Linked DNA regions of Homo sapiens: region 2 is linked to region 1. The links are contacts of gene promoters, found by promoter capture Hi-C in blood cells and fetal thymus (Javierre and others, 2016). All regions are on one chromosome and are shown on one strand. The core of a region is centred on a gene start or on the middle of the fragment in contact, and the rest is flanking DNA. Distances in the headings are between cores, read along the strand shown. Region 1 holds the start of SEPSECS (Sep (O-phosphoserine) tRNA:Sec (selenocysteine) tRNA synthase). Region 2 holds the start of LCORL (ligand dependent nuclear receptor corepressor like).

Region 1 (3,076 bases), core at 325-2,824:
AGTAAAATGTAAAATAATTAGGAAGTGACAAATTTTGAGTATTTTTACTTTTGCTTGTAATATAATTTTTGAGTGGCTGTATTTGAAAACTAGCTCACAAAATTACTGAACATTTAACAATCAGCTCTTGCAAGTGGGTGTGACTCAGTGCAAATGGACAAACCACCAGGTGAAAGCAATGTCAGGAATTACTGTAGGCTCACATAAGATGAAGATTGTAAGGAAACTGGAGGCAGGGATCTCCAGCAGTGAACCTCTAAGTTGTTGAACTGTTACAGCACTGCCAGGTTCCTATGCCGGCTGTGCAGAAACAGACCAGTATTCCGACAGCAGGCTTGCAGCAGAGAAAGTTTTAATAATCACAAGTTACAAGCCAGGAAACAGGAAGAGTTCTCAAGCTTCAATCCATTTCATCAAGGGGTTCTAGGCAAAGTTTTTTAAGGGGATTTGTGGAGGGTGAGGGGCTGGAAAATTTGGGGTTATCGATTCGTTGGGGTAAGGGAGATGAAATCATTAGGATGTGACAATTGCATTCCTCCATGAATCAGCTTTTTATTGGGCCTTCCAGACAAGTTGGCGTCCTTAGTTTTGTTGGTATGCGGGACCTAAAGAAGCAATGCAAACAGAAAGCTTATCTTCTCATAATGTCTTAGATTTTATCTTCAGAGCAGAAAAAGAATGAAGAGTCTTGTGACAAGGGCCACATTCTCCTGGGGTAGTAAGTAGCAACCAGCTACAAGAAAGTCGGCCACACTGCAAGCTGGCTTAATAACAGCAGCTGTAAGCCTAGTTGGATTTTTTTCCCCTCCTTAATCAATTTTACAAAATGTTCTTGGGGATAGTTTCAGAATGGTCAAACTAATTCATTAATTCAATATCAACTTTTTTTTTAGGCCCTACTTTATTCTGGGCACTGTTTTAGGTGCCCGGGGGAAGGGGGCACCGCAGCAAAAACCGAGGTCCTGCCGTTAGGTTAGAGAGTTTACATTCATGGGTATGGGTGTGTGTGTGTGTGTGTATAAACAAACGTCTGGCATGTCACGTGGTGAGTAGTAAGTGCTATGGCTAAACAGTAGTGTCAAGGGGAAAATGAGTGGGGCACTGCTATTTCCTATGGGGTTGTGAGGCAGTAATAAGTGTGGAAATGTATCAAAGTAAAGATCGAAGGTTCTGGCATCTGACAGTTTGAATAAGGCGGAAGCACAGACCCTGCACAGATCTCAACCATCCAACAGGACTGAAACACAGAACTTGGAAAAACCCACGTACCTGCTTCTTACTCTGCTCGCCCGGTCTGCACAAGTGCAAAATCCTTTCCTGAAGTTTGTGTCAGGAACACCAGGGTTTAACTAGACGAATCAGCCGCAGCGGGGCGGGGCTAATTTCAGTCCTTCCTTTGCCAAAAGTCAGCGAAAAGCGCGGACTCCCTCGCGCATGCTCAAATACGCCAACTTCCTCCTGGAGCGCCATCTGAGAAGGTCTGCGCATGTGCACGAACGAGAAGTGTTTTTTTTGTTTTGTTTTGTTTTGTTTTGTTTTTTGTCCCAAGGCGCTGCCGTACCGTCCAGGCGGCGAGTTGCATTCTGGTTCCGTCGTGTGTCTGGCGTGTGGAGCTAGTGCTCCCGCTTATTCGCCACTGTCGCCACCGCTGTCATGAACCGCGAGAGCTTCGCGGCGGGAGAGCGGCTGGTGTCGCCGGCTTACGTGCGGCAGGGCTGTGAGGCCCGCCGCTCGCATGAGCACCTCATACGGCTGCTTCTGGAGAAGGTACCGAGCTGTCGGTCCCCTCCCCAGCCGCCGCGACCCCGGGGCTCTGGCTCCGCCGGGCGTCCCCGCTGGTGCTGCCTCACCGGCAGCTCTTCGCTGCTTGAGACTAGTCCCAAGTCTGTCTCAGCTTGGCTTGCCCTAGCTGACCGACTGCGGTCTGTGCCTTCTCAGCCTTGCCAAAGCCAGTGAAAGCCAAATGGTGTTGTTAGGAGGGGGTGTTGGGGTCGGGGTTTTGAGTCCCGCTGTTTCTAACTTCGGGATGCGGAAGTGAGGGAAAGTCCCAGTGTACTTTTTTATTCGCGGAAAGGGCAAAGTTCGCACCTCCATCTTTCACCAACCCTCAACGACTCAGAACACATAATGGTGTTTGTAGACTGTATGCTAACTCGAACCACGAGCTTTCCGCGGAACTTCACAGGTCTCCCTCCTGCCAGCGTTCATGTATTTTAATTTCATTAAAAGTTTTGTTGTGTTTTGTTTTTTTGAAACAGAGTCTCGCTCTTTCGCCCAGGCTGGAATGCAGTGTGACGATCTCGGCTCACTGCAGCCTCCGCCTCCCGGGTTCACGCCATTCGCCTGCCTCAGCCTCCCGAGTAGCTGGGACTACAGGCGCCCGCCACCACACCCGGTTAATGTTTGTATTTTTAGTAGAGATGGGGTTTCACCATGTTGGCCAGGCTGATCTCAAACTCCTGACTTCAAGTGATCGGCCATTCTTGGCCTTCCAAAGTGCTCGGATTACAGGCGTGAGTGAGCTACAGCGCGTGGCCAAAATTTCACTGAAGTTTGACAACTACCGCCCTTCTCCACGTCCCACCGCCCCAGTCGTAACGCCCTGGTTTGAAGCATCTTCACTGGGGATGTGTTGTATTGGTTTTCAGTTAGTTTCACTTACGGAAATTTAAATATCTCAGTAAACCTCATTGTATGCATTTATCATCACTTCTCGAAATCTGTAAATAATTGTAATCAAATGTACAAACGTTTTGCCTCTTTGCGGTCTCTATACAGTGGTGAATTTATGCTTGAATTTTAGAAAACAAGCAGCGTGGCAAAATACACGTTAAAAAGAAAAACTGTATTCCTGTAGTATTCTAGAGAACGGTAGTTTTATTAAATATAATCATAAGTTTTTTTTTTTTTTTAAGGGCAAGTGTCCAGAGAATGGCTGGGATGAAAGTACACTTGAACTCTTTTTACATGAACTTGCAATCATGGACAGCAACAATTTCTTAGGCAATTGTGGTGTGGGAGAAAGGGAAGGGAGAGTGGCATCCGCACTGGTTGCTCGTCGTCATTACAGGTATCT
Region 2 (3,076 bases), core at 324-2,823, 7.1 Mb after region 1:
ACCTGCACTCCAATTGTGACCGTTCTAGAAAAGGTGATTATGCGTTCAAACTTTATTATTTTTAACTTATGAAGATGCAAAATTACATCTTCACTACTGAAGTCATAATGAGCAAAGAAATACTTTCTCATAGGAAGAAAAAGAAGGTGGATAAGGATAAGCCACAAAACAGGGAAGGTGGTACTGAATTCAGAGTTTATGAGATTTCCAAGAAGAATTAAACATATTTCCCACAGACTTGTGAATAAATTTCCAGAAATACACAGTACTTCTTAGCAAACGTTGGGTAGCTTAGCTTCGGCTTGATAAACTGCACTTATACGGAAACAAACGCACAATCGCTCTGGTGCAAAAGTAAAAACTGTGATTGGAGTCTGTATTTAAACGTAAGATTCCTCTCTAGCTCTCTCTGAAGAAGTTATTTTCTCTAGCACGTGGTAGAATTCATTCCATTAACCTTTGTAAAGTGCTTAATCCCGTGTCACGCACTGTACTAGGGTCTAGCGAGTGACAGATGTCACGGTACAGAGATCTCAGTGGGTCGCTGCCCTCCAGGAGCTTATAAAGAAAATTTTCCTTCTGCAGTTTTCAGCCGGCTACACCCAGTCCCCTGCAAGTAATTTTCAGTGAAAAAAACCCGCATCTTTTTCCTAGTCCTTGCAAATATTCTGGCTTTCCGAGATCTCTTCGCCTTGAATACCGAAGTCACTCCGGGATCTCTCTCTGGACGTTTGGCAGTTATTCCAGATGTAGCCGAATGACCGGCTTGCCCTTTCCCTGCGGAGTGACAGGAAGACAGCGACCCCGGAAAGTTTCCAGCACTTAAAACGCAAAGCGCAGCCTGAACCCACAAGGAGCCGACAACTCTTGCGGCTTCCACCACCCTTCTATCGCGGAGCCTAAGGAAGCTAAAGCAGTCGGGTCAGACCCGGCCACCGGGCAGCGCATGGTTCCGGGCGCAGGGAGCGACAGACTCAGCCCCCCAGCGGCGCGGCGCAGAGAAGTTGCAGGCCAGCCTGCATACCCAAGTGCGGGGGGGAAGAAAAACAAACAAACAAAAAAAATCCTTTCTTCTGGACTACAATGACCGGCAAGCAACGCGCCACGGCGCCAAGTTCAGCTTCGGGATCCTGGCGAAATGGAGCCTGGGAAGTGAAGTCTCCGGACTGTCGGAGTCCCGTAGTGAAGGCAGAAAGTAGGCGTTGCTAGTCCGCTCCACTAGCACGCCGGTTCCTGGCTGGGCTCCGGGTCTCTCGCTCCCGCTCAGGGTTTTCGCGGGCGGCGGGAGCGGTATGGCTCGCCTGAGTAAACTCCAGCGGGAGGGGGAGGAGGGTAGTGGGTGGGGAGGCGGGGTCAGCGGAAGCGGCAGGTTGCTTCCTTCTCCTCTGGCTCCCTCCCCGCCTCTCCCTGAGGGAGCGGTGGGAGGGGGAGGGCAGGGCAGAGGGAAGGTAGTGACACGTGTCAATCAACCCCCCTCCGGGGGGCGCGCGCTCCGGGGCTCGCGCCGAGGGCTCGCGCCCCTGCCTCGTGCCTGCGCTGCTCGTATGTAAATGAGGGCGCGTGACGCGGGACGCAGATGGACAAGGGAAGAGAGAGAATGGCCGCTGCCGCCGCCGCTGCTGCCGCCGCCGCCGCCGCCGCTCAGTGCCGGAGCCCTCGGTGCGCGGCGGAGAGAAGAGGATTCCGGCGGGAACTCGACTCTTGGCGCCACCGCCTCATGCACTGTGTAGGTAAGAGAGACGCGGGCCGGGGCCCCGGGCTCCGCGCGGCGACCGCTGTCGCAGCCCGAGGAGTTTGTGGCTGAGGGGTTTAGTTGAATCTCCCGTTCGGGTTAGTTCGGTGGGGGAGCGAGATGGGAGCGGCGCGGCGCGGCGGCCCCGGCGCTCGCCTTTTGTCTTGCGGGCTGCTGGCCCGGCGCGGTCCGCGCTCCTTCGCCTTCCCAGCTCTTGGGCTCCCCGGGAACTGTTAGTTTGGACCCGCTTGCTGAGCCCCCGCGGAAGCCGCCCGCTCGCTCTCTCCCCGAAACTCCTCGGCGCCCGTCGCTGCCCGCCGTCGCCCGCCGTCCACCCTGACAGGACGGAGGAAGCGGCCCGGTGGGTCGGCGCCCTGGCGGAGGAGAGCCGGCGGGCAGGGCGGCCGGAGGAAGGCGGGCTGGTCCGCGCCCCCGCCGAGCGCACACACACCCCCTTGTCGCCGCCGGGGGCCGGGTGAGCAGACGCGGCCAGTTCCCGGGGACCTGGACCTGGAGACCCACGGGCACTCGCAGGGCGGGGGCCGCTGATGGGCCGGCTGGGGGCGAGGGGCGGCGGGGGCGTCGTCCGAGGGGCGGGGGGCGCCCAACTCTGCCCTCTCGCGCTCGGCGGCGGCGCTGTGTGTACCCCTTTAAGAAGGAGCCGCTTGAGCGCTGACGGTTGGGATTTGAAGTTCTTCCTCCCTCTTTGGAAGTCTGGACGGATGGGGGGTGTTGCCACGGCAACGACACCCTCCCCCCCGTCTGCTTGCGGACGCCCCGACGACTCTGGTCCTCTTTCACTGTCATGTGATGGACTCTTCCTTACACACACACACACATATACACGCATACGCATCGCCCTCCCCACCTCCCATCCCCATTCAACTGCAATTCCCTCTTTTTGGTTGGATCTGAATCGTTTTGCCTCAAACTTCTGGGCTTGGGGCTCTCACCCTGTGGATTGTTTAGGGTGACAGGAATGGTGGGACTCCCGACCTTGCTGCAGTCGCTTTTTTTTTTTTCTTTTTTTGCCTAAGACGAATGCATAGAGCTGTTATCCAGCAGGTTGGTTTAGTGGGCTTAGAGGGGCGAACACGGATTATGGAATGGGGCGCGTTGTGGGTGTTTGTTTTGGAAGGGGGTTATGGGTGGGAGTGTAGGGGAAGAGGTAGAAAGGAAGGTTGTATTGTGTAAGCAGTGGATAGTGGCAGCAGCTTGCTCTACTGGCGAGTGAATCTTGGCATTTGGAGTTGGGGAGTAACCCTAGTGTCTTAAGAAAACAACTCTCTTACCTTGTTTCCATCTGCTCTGGCACCACCTCGCACCCCCGACCCCGCCTCCCAT

Evidence for each region. Contacts are between HindIII fragments. The CHiCAGO score rates a contact against its expected background, and 5 or more counts as called.
Region 2: the fragment with the promoter of LCORL here is called in contact with the fragment with the promoter of SEPSECS in region 1 in 1 of 17 cell types (non-activated CD4 T cells); the score reaches 6.3 in non-activated CD4 T cells.

Annotation. Positions count from the first base shown.
Region 1 is chr4:25,158,947-25,162,022 of GRCh38, reverse strand. It overlaps SEPSECS (Sep (O-phosphoserine) tRNA:Sec (selenocysteine) tRNA synthase), which reads left to right and starts at 1,574. Exons shown (of 11, transcript NM_016955.4): 1 at 1,574-1,767; 2 at 2,916-3,070. The coding sequence starts at 1,654. SEPSECS-DT (SEPSECS divergent transcript) reads right to left here and starts at 1,351. Exons shown (of 2, transcript NR_037934.1): 1 at 1,270-1,351. RefSeq lists an enhancer at 1,311-1,610 and a silencer at 1,721-1,890. The HindIII fragment of the contact is 2,962 bases long and covers 633-3,076 here.
Region 2 is chr4:18,020,252-18,023,327 of GRCh38, reverse strand. It overlaps LCORL (ligand dependent nuclear receptor corepressor like), which reads left to right and starts at 1,573. Exons shown (of 8, transcript NM_001394446.1): 1 at 1,573-1,730. The coding sequence starts at 1,577. RefSeq lists an enhancer at 942-1,201 and silencers at 1,252-1,711, 2,032-2,361. The HindIII fragment of the contact is 12,000 bases long and covers 1-3,076 here.